2 separate regions of the Homo sapiens genome follow, and region 1 is linked to region 2. Evidence: promoter capture Hi-C in 16 types of primary human blood cells and fetal thymus (Javierre and others, 2016). All regions are on one chromosome and are shown on one strand. The core of a region is centred on a gene start or on the middle of the fragment in contact, and the rest is flanking DNA. Distances in the headings are between cores, read along the strand shown. Region 1 holds the start of LOC124901935 (a long non-coding RNA gene). Region 2 holds the start of FGFR1 (fibroblast growth factor receptor 1).

Region 1 (5,995 bases), core at 666-3,165, 83 kb after region 2:
CTCCTGCCTCAGCCTCCTGAGTAGCTAGGATTACAGGCATGCGCCACCACGCCTGGCTAATTTTGTATTTTTAGAAGAGACAGTGTTTCACCATGTTAGCCAGGGTGGTCTCAAACTCCTGACCTCAGGTGATCCACCTGCCTTGGCCTCCCAAAGTGCTGGGATTACAGGCATGAGCCATCGTGCCCAGGCTTTTCCTAATCTTTTTTTTTTTTTTTTTTTTTTTTGAGACAGAGTTCACTCTTGTTGCCCAGGCTAGAGTGCAATGGCATGATCTCGGCTCACTGCAACCTCCACCTCCCAGGTTCAAGTGCTTCTCCTGCCTCAGCCTCCTGAGTAGCTGGGATTACAGGCATGTGCCACCATGCCTGGCTAATTTTGTATTTTTAGTAGAGACAGGGTTTCTCCATATTGGTCAGGCTGGTCTCGAACTCCCAACCTCAGGTGATCTGCCTGCCTTGGCCTCCCAAAGTGCTGGGATTACAGGTGTGAGCCACCGCGCCTGGCCTTCCTAATCTTTTTTATTCCCACTTCTTCTTGTTCCATTCCTATTTTCATCTAATATTTATTGCTTATTTTTAATATGTTTTTATGATTTCTTTGAGAAATGTAAATGTATATATACTTCAAAACCTATCCTCTATGAAACTGATAGATTTTAGTACTAGTCTATAAAATTGGTAGATTTTTATGACTTCTGCTCTATAAAACTGATGTCAACTGGAATGAATTAATGTTGTTTATTGATTTTACTGTCTTTCTTAGCATTAGACTTTTTCATTGTTAAAATGTGTTTTGGAATTTTGATTTGCAGATCCATTTCTAGTGGCAGTTTTCCCCCTTTGATTTGTTTTGTTTTTGTCTTTTTTTCTTCTCTTCCTGAATGCACAGTTTATAGTTTTGTGGTTGCCTCCACCCATTTTCCTAAGCCGCTGTTCCAGCGCCAGCTCTTACGTGTTATTTCATGGTTCCTTATTCTGTGCCAGAATGATGCCAATCCAGATGAGGAGCTGTGGGTGGCTTGGCATGGGTCCTCACTTTGAGGCTGTGCTCTATTTCCACCCCACTTTACCTCACCCTACCCTGGTCTCCAGCATCTAAAAGTAGGGTCTTCCTCTGGGCTTTCTCCCAGGACAAAGTTTTTCAAGTAAACATTTCTATTGAAATATAACAGATATACAGAAACGCACATGAATCGTAAAGGGGCACCTCAATGAGTTTTCACAAAGTGAATGCTCCTGTGTAATAAACCCCCAGAGCACAAAAAGAACATTCTTGGCCTCCAGAAGACCCCTGGTGTTCATCTTAGTCACTGCCCTTTCTAAGGTAACTGGGCTCCTGGCTTCTCTAAAACCCTTTGGGACTCAGAGCCCAGCAGCATGTCAGTCACAGCCCCATTTAGTGATTTTGGGCTCTGTTCTTGCTTCTGGTTCACAGAAAGCTTGCCTTGTTTTTCAGCCCAACTGTGTGTGTTGGGTTATATGCGAAAATGTTTTATTTACTGCTGGTTTGTGGTTGGAACAGAGAACTCACCGCTCCATCTTGACTGGAAGTCCAGCAGAACCTGTTTATGGGACAGTCACTAGTTCTGACCGGAGACCAGGGAAATGGTAGCAGATGCGCTGGGTTCAGCGGATGAAAAGCCTTTGTATGCTCACTAATAAATTCAGATGTTGTCCTCCAGTTAGTGAATGGATGATGAAAGACTGCATGCAGGAAAATGAGATGCTTTGGGATGTGTACATTTTAGAATTATTTCTCTGGCTAAACCAGGGAGGATGGAATGAAGGAGAGCCACACACAAACAGTTTTACCAGCTGGGAGGGAATTTCTGTAATTCGGGTGAGGCGTGCCCAGGGTCCATGAGGGCAGTGGTTGTGGGGGTGGCAAGATTATAAAAATGAATTTGCCGGGTGTAATGGCTCACACCTGTAGTCCCAGCACTTTGGGAGGCCAAGGTGGGTGGATCACCTCAGGTTGGGAATTCAAGACCAGCCTGACCAACATGGAGAAACCCCATCTCTACTAAAAATACAACATTAGCCAGGCGTAGTGGCGCATGCCTGTAATCCCAGCTACTCAGGAAAGCTGAGGCAGGAGAATGGCTTGAACCTGGGAGGCGGAGGTTGCAGGGAGCTGAGATCGTGCCATTGCACTTCAGCCTGGGCAACAAGAGTAAAAACTCTGTTTCAAAAAGAAAAAAGAATGAATTTGGGAGATAAATAGGAGGTGATTGATTGGACGGATGTCAAGGATGACTTTTAGTTTCTGAAAACTGGTAAAAGGTGGTGCAATTTATAGGACTTAAGGAATGCTGGGGATGGAGCAGGTTTCTGGGCATTTATTTCATTTGCCAGTTTTGTTAGTGGTTGGCTCTGCATGTCTTCTCCCAAGCTTCTGGTCCCATGACTCATCTGACAGATGGCGTTTGTTGAGTCCCTGCTGGTGAGGGCTGGAGCCTGGGGAGATAAGGATGTGGAGGGACATAACTAGGAGACAGGGCCACCTTCAGGCTGGGGCTCTTTGCAGTGGGCATTTATCAGCGTACAGGAAATGCCTGTGCTCAGATTTCCTGCCCACAAGGTGCGGGGGTGCGAGATGCATGTGAAGCTTGGGCCCCTTTGTGGAAATGAGGGAGAGGGAAGCAGAGAGTCAAGTGCATGAGAAGTAAATAGAGACCCTGAGAAAGAAAGGCAGACCTAGGGGAAAGGAACTCCAGTTTTTCCTTTCTTCTGGTTGGTCAGAGTTCAGTCCTTTGCCCCCACCCTAACACCTTCTGCTTCTAAAGGTCCTTCATTACTTGGGACCCAGCTTCCTACTGCAGCTCTTCCCCAACCACCTCTACAGAAGGGGTAGAGAATTCAGTGGCTCGATACAAATGTATCTTGGCATCTTGTAGTCAGGAGGACAAATTTTGCCTTCTCTGTGATCCTGCAGAAGGCATCCCAGGAGGTCTATGATGTTTCCGCCTTCTGATCCTTCTTTCTCTCCACGTACCCCTTAACCTCTTCCCATCATCAAGCCCTCTTTAGCTTGCCTGGGAGCCAGGCTGGGTGTTGCAATCCTCCTGGGCCAGGCTGTTAACTGAGTAGCAATCTGAGCAGGTTCTAGAAGCGCGTCCCTGGAGTCTAGGGTTTCCAAGGAGTCAGCTCAGAACCTAGAAGTTCACTCTATGGAGGGTCAAGGTACAGAAACCTGAGAATGAGGAATAAGCTGAAATCTATCACTGCATCTCCCTAGGCCTCAGAAACAGGTGGGTCCTGCTGCTGTGGTCTTCCTCACACTCATTCTTATTGCTGCTTATTTTAGGCAGAAACAATAGTAGGATGCTATGACCTGTGAAATCATAATCCAACCCTTACATTCCGTAGATGAGGCCCAGGGAGGTTAAACTGATTTTTCCACCTCAATCCAGGAACTTTCTACTTTGTTATTCCTTCCCCACCCCCACCCTTGGCTCCCAAAGGGCTTTAGGGTCAACTTAGTGAGCTCTAGGGTGCCATTGCCAATCCAGATATTGACGGTCGGCCCCATGGGCAGCGCAGGGTCCGAGTCTGGGGTTTGATCAGAGTCTTAAGTTCAGCGGGTCTCTCCCCTGCAGGCCCCTGCACCTGGGGTTGGGAGAATGAATAAGGACCTTGTCTGGTAGGAATTTCTTTCCTCTGCTGTTTGCTTTGGGTTTTTTCCCTCTCCATTCCTGGCGGCTAACCCAATATTTGGCTTTCTAAATTTCTAAATTTCTGTGAGCACTAAATATATTTCTTCATTTAACCCCGAGAATCATGGTTTCCTACCTGCTTCCCACGACCGGATCCACAGCCTGGAATGAAAACAGAACCCCGAGGGCATCGGCAGCTCAGGGCTGAGGGGGTGGTGGTTCCGGGGAGGGGGAGGAGCAGAGCCAGGGAGGGAGGGTGCACTCACCCACGCTGGGCATCTCAGACATCCTGAGAAAGCAGGAACAGAGGGAGGGGGGAGACGCTTTGGCTTCTCTCCCAACTCCCCGCAGCCGGGGCCCTGCTCCTCCCCTCCCTATCTAAAAGGGGGCCTGGTCCCCACCCACGGCGCCTCTGCACAGCCCCAACATCCCAGGTGCAGGCCGTGAGCTAGACCTGGGGCGTGGTGAAAGCAAGCAAAACCTGCGCCTGAAGCCCGCTCCGCCACACCTTGCCCCCTGCAGACCCTTCTAGCTGGGCCGCGGCCCTCTTGCACGGACTCTTAGAGGGCTCCTCCACCGCCCTGCGCTCCCCACTGTAAATAGTCAAGGCCGCGGTATAGCTGAGCTAAATTGTCCTGGTAAATTGAACGGGGCAGTGGAAAATTCCCCTCCGGAGCCTCCCGGGGAGGAGCTCTAAGCAGCTGCTACCGAACCCCAGGGCTTGTTAGGCACCTGCCTTTCAGGTTCTCCACCCACTCAGCCCCCAGCTGGGGAGGAGGTGGCTGTTTCCTTCTCCTTCGGAGCAGGAAGGGAGAGGCAAGAGACCCTGCTCCCCAGCCCTGACCTGAGCTAATGTCTGCTAAAACATCTCCTCTTAAATCAGACTTGGTTTTCCAGATTTGGGAGCCGGTGGCAGTACATTCTGTCTCCGTCTGGCTGAGCAGGAAAACAGGAGACAGAGCTTCCTACCACCTGATTTACAGCCTTGGCGTGGTTTTGAGACACAAATCACCCGAGAGAGCGGCTCAGTTGTAGTTCTGCAGATGCGATCCGGTAGGATCACCTGGCAAGATCGCTTCCCGCCGGTGGGGAGGTCCACAGGGCCTGGGAAAAGGCCTCCTCCCAGACTGAAACGCCGCCCACTGCCCGCCCCCCGAATGTGTCTGGGACCCCACTGGGCCATGTTGGAGCCTGGGGGATGGACGATGTGGGGGATAGTAGGGCAGGCGGCAGTGGGTCCACAAGTCCTGATGACCAGCAGGGCCATTCCGACCTTCCTCGGTCCCCTCATTCCCTTCCTTGCCTGTACCTGCCTTTGTTTCTTCAACCTGAATCTGTCAAGCACTCCCCAAGCACCAGGCACTGTCGTAGCTGCCCTAGAAGGACACAAGAATACTAAGTCTCTGGCCCTGCACTTAGTTCCAGAGGAAGAGGAGATAGGAATGTAAATGCTTGCAACAAAAGGCTGAATGCAGTTAGTGTCATGACACAGGTATAGATAAGGTGTCCTGGGACTGTGAAGATCTCTCTCAGAGTCAGGGGAGGCTTCCGTGAGGAGGTGACGCTAATGTTCATCAGAACAGAAGACAGGAGATGCCCTGGCGACAGGGCTGACTTGGTTTCATGGGGATTCTCTGTTTTATCTCCATCTCCAGGGCACTTTATCCTTTTAAAATACTTTTTTTTTTTTTTTTTTTTTTGAGATGGAGTCTCGCTCTGTTGTCCAGGCTGGAGTGCAATGGCGCGATCTCAGCTCACTGCAACCTCTGCCTCCCGGGTTCAAGCGATTCTCCTGCCTCAGCCTCCTGAGTAGCTGAGACTACAGGTGCCTGGCACCACGCCCGGCTAATTTTTGTATTTTTGGTAGAGATGTGGTTTTGTCATGTTGGCCAAGCTGGTCTCAAACTCTTGATCTTGTGATCCGCCTGCCTCGGCCTCCTAAAGTGTTGGAATTACAGGCATGAGCCACCGTGCCTGGCCCCTTTTTACTCTTAGATTAGCCATACCCAGGTCTGAGGGTCTTGTCTGTCCTCCCTATACTGTGCTTTTTTTTTTTTCTTTTTTACATGGGGTCCTGCTATATTGCCCAGGCTGGTCTCAAACTCCTGGACTCAGGCAGTCCTCCTGCCTCAGCCTCCTGAGTAGCTGAGATGACAGGCGAGAACCACCACACCTTGCTTGTTTGCCCCTGTGTCAGAAGCCATGTGGTTTCTTTGAGGTTGGCATCAGGCCGCCATCAGCCCCTTTGCCCTGCCCCCACTACCAATGCTTGGGCTCAGCTGTCCCATTAAAGCGAGGTATGCTGTGGGCCTCAGTTCAACTCCCAGCTCTTGTGAG
Region 2 (6,051 bases), core at 435-2,934:
TCTATATGAACCCCCATCTACAAGGTCCATAAAATTCCTCCGCAAACATGGGTCGTAGCCTCACTTTTCTCCCAACCCCAAACATAACGGTAGGGGAAGCGAGGTGCAGAGGGGTCTGGGCCAGAGAAGCATACGCATCGCTGCCGAGTGAACCACACCGGACAAAAACCCTCATCCCTTCCCCCACCTCTAGGAACCAGATTGGGACCGAACGGTCCTTCCGCCCCCATCCCACACCTCGGCTTAACGACCGTGGGTTGTCCTCCCGTTCCCCAAACTTCCGACCCTTTCAGAGACCGTCCAAGTCATAAGATCACCCCTTCTGGAAAGGGGAGTCGTTTTTCGCTCTCAGCTCAAGCAGATTCAGCCATTTGGTGACGACACCTCCTTAAAACCTATTCCAAGAGAAGCTAACCTAGCCCTCCACGTCCTCCGCAGTTCATCTCCCACCCCATCCGACCCCAACCCGCACCCCAGGCTTTCCCGGGGGTGGAAAAGGACTTAGGAATGCCCCGGATTTTTAGCGTTGAGCCCAAAGCTACCTGCTGAATTGGGGGTGAATCCCCAAAAGGGGACCAAAAAGACATGGAGTGGAATGCAACACACACACATAACACACACAACGCATCCCACCTCGCCGCCCACTCCCGCCCTCCTCCCCAGTCCAGGAAACCGCGGGCCTCGCCGCCTTCGCCCCGGGCCTGTCCCTCCCGGGACTCACTGAGGAGCCGCCGCCGCCTCGCCAGCTCCCGAGCGCGAGTTGGAGGAAAAGTTGGGCGGCGGGAAGAGCGGCGGGACGAGCGCAGGGAGGGGGCGCAGGAGACGCGGACGGAGGGAAGGGAGGGGAGACCCAAGGGGCGCGGATCGCCCGGGAGGGAGCCAGGAGGTGAAAGGGGCGGGCGGCGAGCGGAGGGAGGCGCCGGCCCCGGCTGGGCTGCGGCGGGCAAAGCGCGCAGCCGGGAGGCTCCGGCGCCGGGGGCCGCTCGGGACGCCAAGCCCGCCCCAGATCCGGGGGCGCCGCGGCTCTTACCTCGCTCGGCGTGGAGGTTCCGCCTCGGGAGAGTCCGCCGTGGCTTGTGCGAGCGGGCGTGTGCCCGCGTCCCCGGCTCCGGCCCGCCGCCCCCGGGCTCTGTTCGGGTCCTGGCGGGGTCGCAAGAGCTCCGCGGCCGGCGCTCGACTCCCGGCGGCGCTCGGTGCTCGGCGCCTCCAGCCCGGGCGGGAACAATGGAGCCGGAGCTGGTGCCCCGGAGGCGGGGCGGGGGGAGGGCTCCCGTCCGCCACCCGGGGTCTCCAGACCTTGTGCCCCCCTCCTCCAGAACGCAGCGGCGGCGCCTCACTTTCCTTGCAGACCGGGCTCCATCGCCCTGCGGAGGCCCCGGCGCCGCGGCGTGCCCGACTGCAGCACGGGTACCGTGCGCCCTGCGGGGCGCCCCGAGCTCGGACCGGAGAAAAGTCCTTGGGTTCCGCGGCTTTTCAAGCAGCGGCGCGCTCGCGGCCGGGGAAGGCGAGGTCGCCGCAATGCGCTACGAGGGGTCTCGGTCCCGTCCGGACGTGGCCGCCCAGCTCCCGGCACACCCGGGTTCCTCCGCGCGCTGCGGCTGCACCGGCGTCCCGGCTCCCGCTAGCTGCCGCCCGCCGCCGAGGACGCCGCGCCTGTGGCCGCAAGAGCGCTCCGAGCGCTATGCGCCGGCGGGGCGCGAGGGCTCGCTCTCTCACTCCCACCCGCGCTGGTCCCTCCTCCGCCTCCGCCCCCTGCAGCTGCCTGCTGGGCCTTGTAGTTCCCCAGCCGCGGCCCCAAAGGACGGGGAGCGGGCCGAGCTGTCCGGCGCTCTGCCCTTCTCTTCCTACAGCCTGGTCTCCTTTGGCGTTTGCGCCCCTGCATCTGAGCACGTCCCAGAGGGCGCCGGAATGTCAGGCCCTAGACATAGCAGCGGTTTGGGGGCTAGGGGGCAGGTGAAGAGACGCCGCAGCCTTGAGGTTGTACCTGGTAGCGTGGGCTTTGGAGTCTGTGCGCCTTGGGGAAATGATTTTCGCGCTCTAAATCTCTGTTTTCCCATCTGTAAATGGGGGATAATAGTGCTTTTCACATAGAGTTGAGGCGTCAACGAGGGCCTAGCGCATAGTTAACACTTAGTAAATACAAGCCGGTTTTATTATAAGGTCAGCCCCTCCTCAAACCCTTCCCTTGGATTTCAGCTTTCCCCAGCCACATAATTTAGGTTTTGTGGTCCACCGGGAACTGGACCCTGTAAATTCTACAGCGATGCTGTTGGCTTCCAGAAGTCTCCAGCCTGCAGTGAATGTCTAGGAAGCAAAGAGTAAGCAGTGGGAGTTGAGGGGAGACGTGTGGTTGGTTTGGAAATTAATCACAGCCCACTCAGAACACCCTCCAGTACTGTGGAACACAGGAAAGTGGCTAAAATGCTTCCCCCTGAGTCTTCCCGCGAAGTGGTATAATGTAGTGGTTCCCTAATCCAGATGGACACGGGTCCTAGGGAACGTCTGAAAAATACAAGTTCATGGGCCTGCTCAGACATGAGGAATCACGCTGTCCCAGGAAGGAGCCAAGAGCCTTTATTTTTTCCAAGGCTCCTTGGGGCGTGTGATGTGAGCCCAGGCTGAGGCCACCATTGGGGTGGGAAGTAGGCAGCACTTGGTCTGAAGGATTCCTCCATTCTGTCCATCATTTATGAAGTTTGATGTAGGACAAATCATGCATCTGATAAAATCAAAACGGGGTATCTGTTGATACTCCTTCACAAGATGGTCATAAGAATCAAATAAAATAATAGCTCTCAGTGGACCAAAAATATTACACAAATGGAAGTCACTATGAAAGGTAGTGGCAGGGCCTGTTCCCTTACCATCACCCACCTCAACCCCGAAACTTGTAGAAGTTTGAATACTGAATGAGATCCCCCCACCCAACTCCTCACCCAACCCACCCACGCCTCCCTGGCTAATTTAAGAAAAGAGTTGGCCGGGTGCGGTGGCTTATGCCTGTAATCCCAGCACTTTGGGAGGCCGAGGCGGGTGGATCACGAGGTCGGGAGATCGAGACTATCCTTGCCAACAAGGTGAAACCCCGTCTCTACTAAAATACAAAAAAATTAGCCAGGCATGGTGGCGCTTGCCTGTAATCCCAGCTACTGGGGAGGCTGCGGCAGAGGAATCGCTTGAACCCGGGAGGCGGAGGTTGCAGTGAGCCGAGATTGTGCCACTGCACTCCAGCCTGGCAACAGAGCAAGACTCCGTCTCAAAAAAAAAAAGAAAAGAAAAGAAAAAATGGTCCTCGCGCTATTTTTCTAATCCACCAGTAGGTGACAGACTAGTGGCCAACACAGTGTTATTCACATAGTAGACACTCATGAAATCCCTTGACTGGCCAAAGAGCAAATATTCAATAAGTATTTGTTGAACAAATGAGTAAATAAACAACTAAATTACAGCTCACGCCTGTAATCCCAGCACTTTGGGTGGCCGAAGCGGGAGGATCACTTGAAGCCAGAAGTTCAAGACCAGCCTGGGAAACAAAGTGAGCCCTTGTCTCTACAAAATATTTTTAAAAATTAGCTGGAGGTGGAGGCTGAAGAAGGAGGATGGCTTGAGCCCAGGAGTTTGAGGCTGCAGTGAGCTATGATCCAGCCACTACACTCCAGCCTGGGCGACAGAGTAAGACCCTGTCTCAAAACAAAATAATACAAAACAAAAAATGAGAAACAAGAACTCATATCTTTGTTGAATAAATGAACTTCAGCCACTGTTTATAGGGTTTTCCCCTAAGAGCCACCATTTAACCTTTCAGCTCCTGGTCAAGCTTGGTTTATACTCCTATGTAAGCTGCCCACCCATTAGGCCTCCTGCATTTTAATTACTACACATCACACGCTTGTAAGAAGGCCATACTCACACCCTACCCCCAAGAGGCCTTCCCTGCCCATCCCAGCTTTGTCAGTCCCTGGACCCCCTGCTCACTTGCTGACTATCCACTGAGTTGATACCGTGCTTTGTTAGTGGTTTTCCTTACTCTGCTTTCTTTCTAACTGGTTTCTAAACTGCTTTAGGGCAAGGATCTTATCTAGGTGTCTGACCAATTCTACACAGGAGGTTTTCCATGTATATTTATTGTTCATGGACTTGCTAAGCATAACCAACCTGGGTTACCAGAGGAGGAAACACAATTTGAGGGAATATGATTGGGAAGACAAGCCATGAAAAAAATCCAGCATTTAATGTTAACACCCAGCTACTATTTTTCTACTTTGCTCCGTAATTCTTCTCAAAAAAGGGTTTTTTTTGTTTTCTTTTTTTTTTTTTTTCCTGAGATGGAGTCTTGCTCTTTTTGCCCAGGCTGGAGTGCAATGGCACGATCTCAGCTCACTCAGCTCACCTCTGCCTTCTGGGCTCAAGCGATTCTCCTGCCTCAGCCTCCCGAGTAGCTGGGATTACAGACACCTGCCACCATGCCCAGCTAATTTTTGTATTTTTAGTAGAGACAGGGTTTCACCATGTTGGCCAGGCTGGTCTCGAACTCCTGACCTCAGGTAATCTGCCCACCTTGGCCTCCCAAAGTGCTGGGATTACAGGCGTGAGCCACCATTCCTGGCCCAAAACAAGGGGTTTTAAATCAAGCCCCTTTTTCTTATGATTTAGAACCATTGTAGGAGTATCTTGAACCCCAAATAAAAGGCTAAATAATGCGTTCTTGATTTAAACAGAAAGATAATGATCTAAATGCTTGTTTGGGGTTGAGGGACATGGGCCTGCTGCTGAAAAATCCTCTATAGATTTATCAAGAAGCCAAAATGAAAGCAAGTGGCCAACTTGCCAGGGTCCCTCCTCCACTTCTCAGGGAAAGAGCTGATGGCAGCTGAACAGAGAAGGTGAGAAACTCAGCAAAGGCATGGGCTGTCCACACACTGCAGACAGGTTTCTGAATAATTGAGAGTTGGCTGCTTTTATCCTTCCAGCCCACCTCGCTCCTTTTCTGTCCCACTCCTCTACTCGCCCTCTTTCTGAAATGTAGCCCTCCCATTTCTGGAAGGGCCCCAGGCCAGTGGAGGGAGAGTGTCCCTAGGGCAGCCCTGAGCTGCTCCAGGCAACAGGGGTCAGACAGCAGCTCTGCCTGTCTCTGTTCTGCCCGAGGCCTCCTGGCACCTTGCCTCCCATACAGAAATGTAACCTTCCCTCTGAGATAACAAAGAGCTGGGAGGGTCAGGGAGGATTTGTCGGCCCTTCGCCCTGCCAGCTACATGTCTAAGGGGAGACAAAGGCCCTCATGCTGGAGGGCCTGATAACTGGTTGGGGGCCTGTTGCCTCCCACATCTGTGGGAGGAGGAGACCACTGCTGAATGAAACGAAGGGAAACGGAGCTCTCCCCAAAGCCCGGCCAGCTCTCTTTGTTTGGGAACACTGTAGGAAATCCCTTCCCTGTTCCTCCAGCTACTTGTGTCCTCAGAGTTTTCCCTGGCAGACGGGAGCTCCTCTTCCCCTCTCCCCACATTCCTTCTGCCCCTGCTCTATCTGGGTTCTGTTATTTTAGGGCTCAGCTGTGCCTACCAGGAATGATCACCCCACTACCCTGGGTCGATACTGCAGAATTAACAATTCTTTGTTATGGAACAAGTCAGGTAAAGTAAGCACCATTGACATGGGGCAAGGTTGCAGAACTTCCAGCCCAGGCTTCAAGAGTCCCCAGGATGTGGTGAGAGCTGGCAGAGTCTCCACTCCGAGAGCTGGTTGCAGAAGGGGATTCGGGAGGAGGGAACTGTCTGGGGTTTTCCCTACAAAGTGGATGGTTCACAGGTCCTGGGAGCAGGTGGGCAGCCAAGCCTTTTGCCCCAGGCCCCTGGAGTTAGGGAGCAGCAGTCAGTCACCATCTGGCCACCATTTGGTGACCCCTGTCTGTTCCCAGAGCAGCTTCAGCATGTCAGGGAAGGGAGGGTCTTATTTGGCTTGGTGTTTTTGTAAATAACATTCACTCTCTTCTGCCAATTTGGAGTGAGAAAGGGAGCGAGCTGTGTGGCAGCTCAGCTCTGTCTGGCCTGAATG

What was found. Contacts are between HindIII fragments. The CHiCAGO score rates a contact against its expected background, and 5 or more counts as called.
Region 1: a contact is called between a fragment that was not itself captured here and the fragment with the promoter of FGFR1 in region 2, in 3 of 17 cell types (endothelial precursors, M0 macrophages and M1 macrophages). The highest score is 6.5, in endothelial precursors.

The regions. Positions count from the first base shown.
Region 1 is chr8:38,549,922-38,555,916 of GRCh38, forward strand. It overlaps LOC124901935 (a long non-coding RNA gene), which reads right to left and starts at 3,827. Exons shown (of 2, transcript XR_007060890.1): 1 at 1,534-3,827. RefSeq lists enhancers at 2,344-2,845, 4,430-4,519. The HindIII fragment of the contact is 953 bases long and covers 1,440-2,392 here.
Region 2 is chr8:38,466,951-38,473,001 of GRCh38, forward strand. It overlaps FGFR1 (fibroblast growth factor receptor 1), which reads right to left and starts at 1,685. Exons shown (of 18, transcript NM_023110.3): 1 at 1,031-1,685. RefSeq lists silencers at 968-1,087, 1,098-1,227, 1,498-1,567 and enhancers at 1,425-2,411, 1,848-2,017, 5,029-5,822, 5,823-6,051. The HindIII fragment of the contact is 10,295 bases long and covers 1-3,815 here.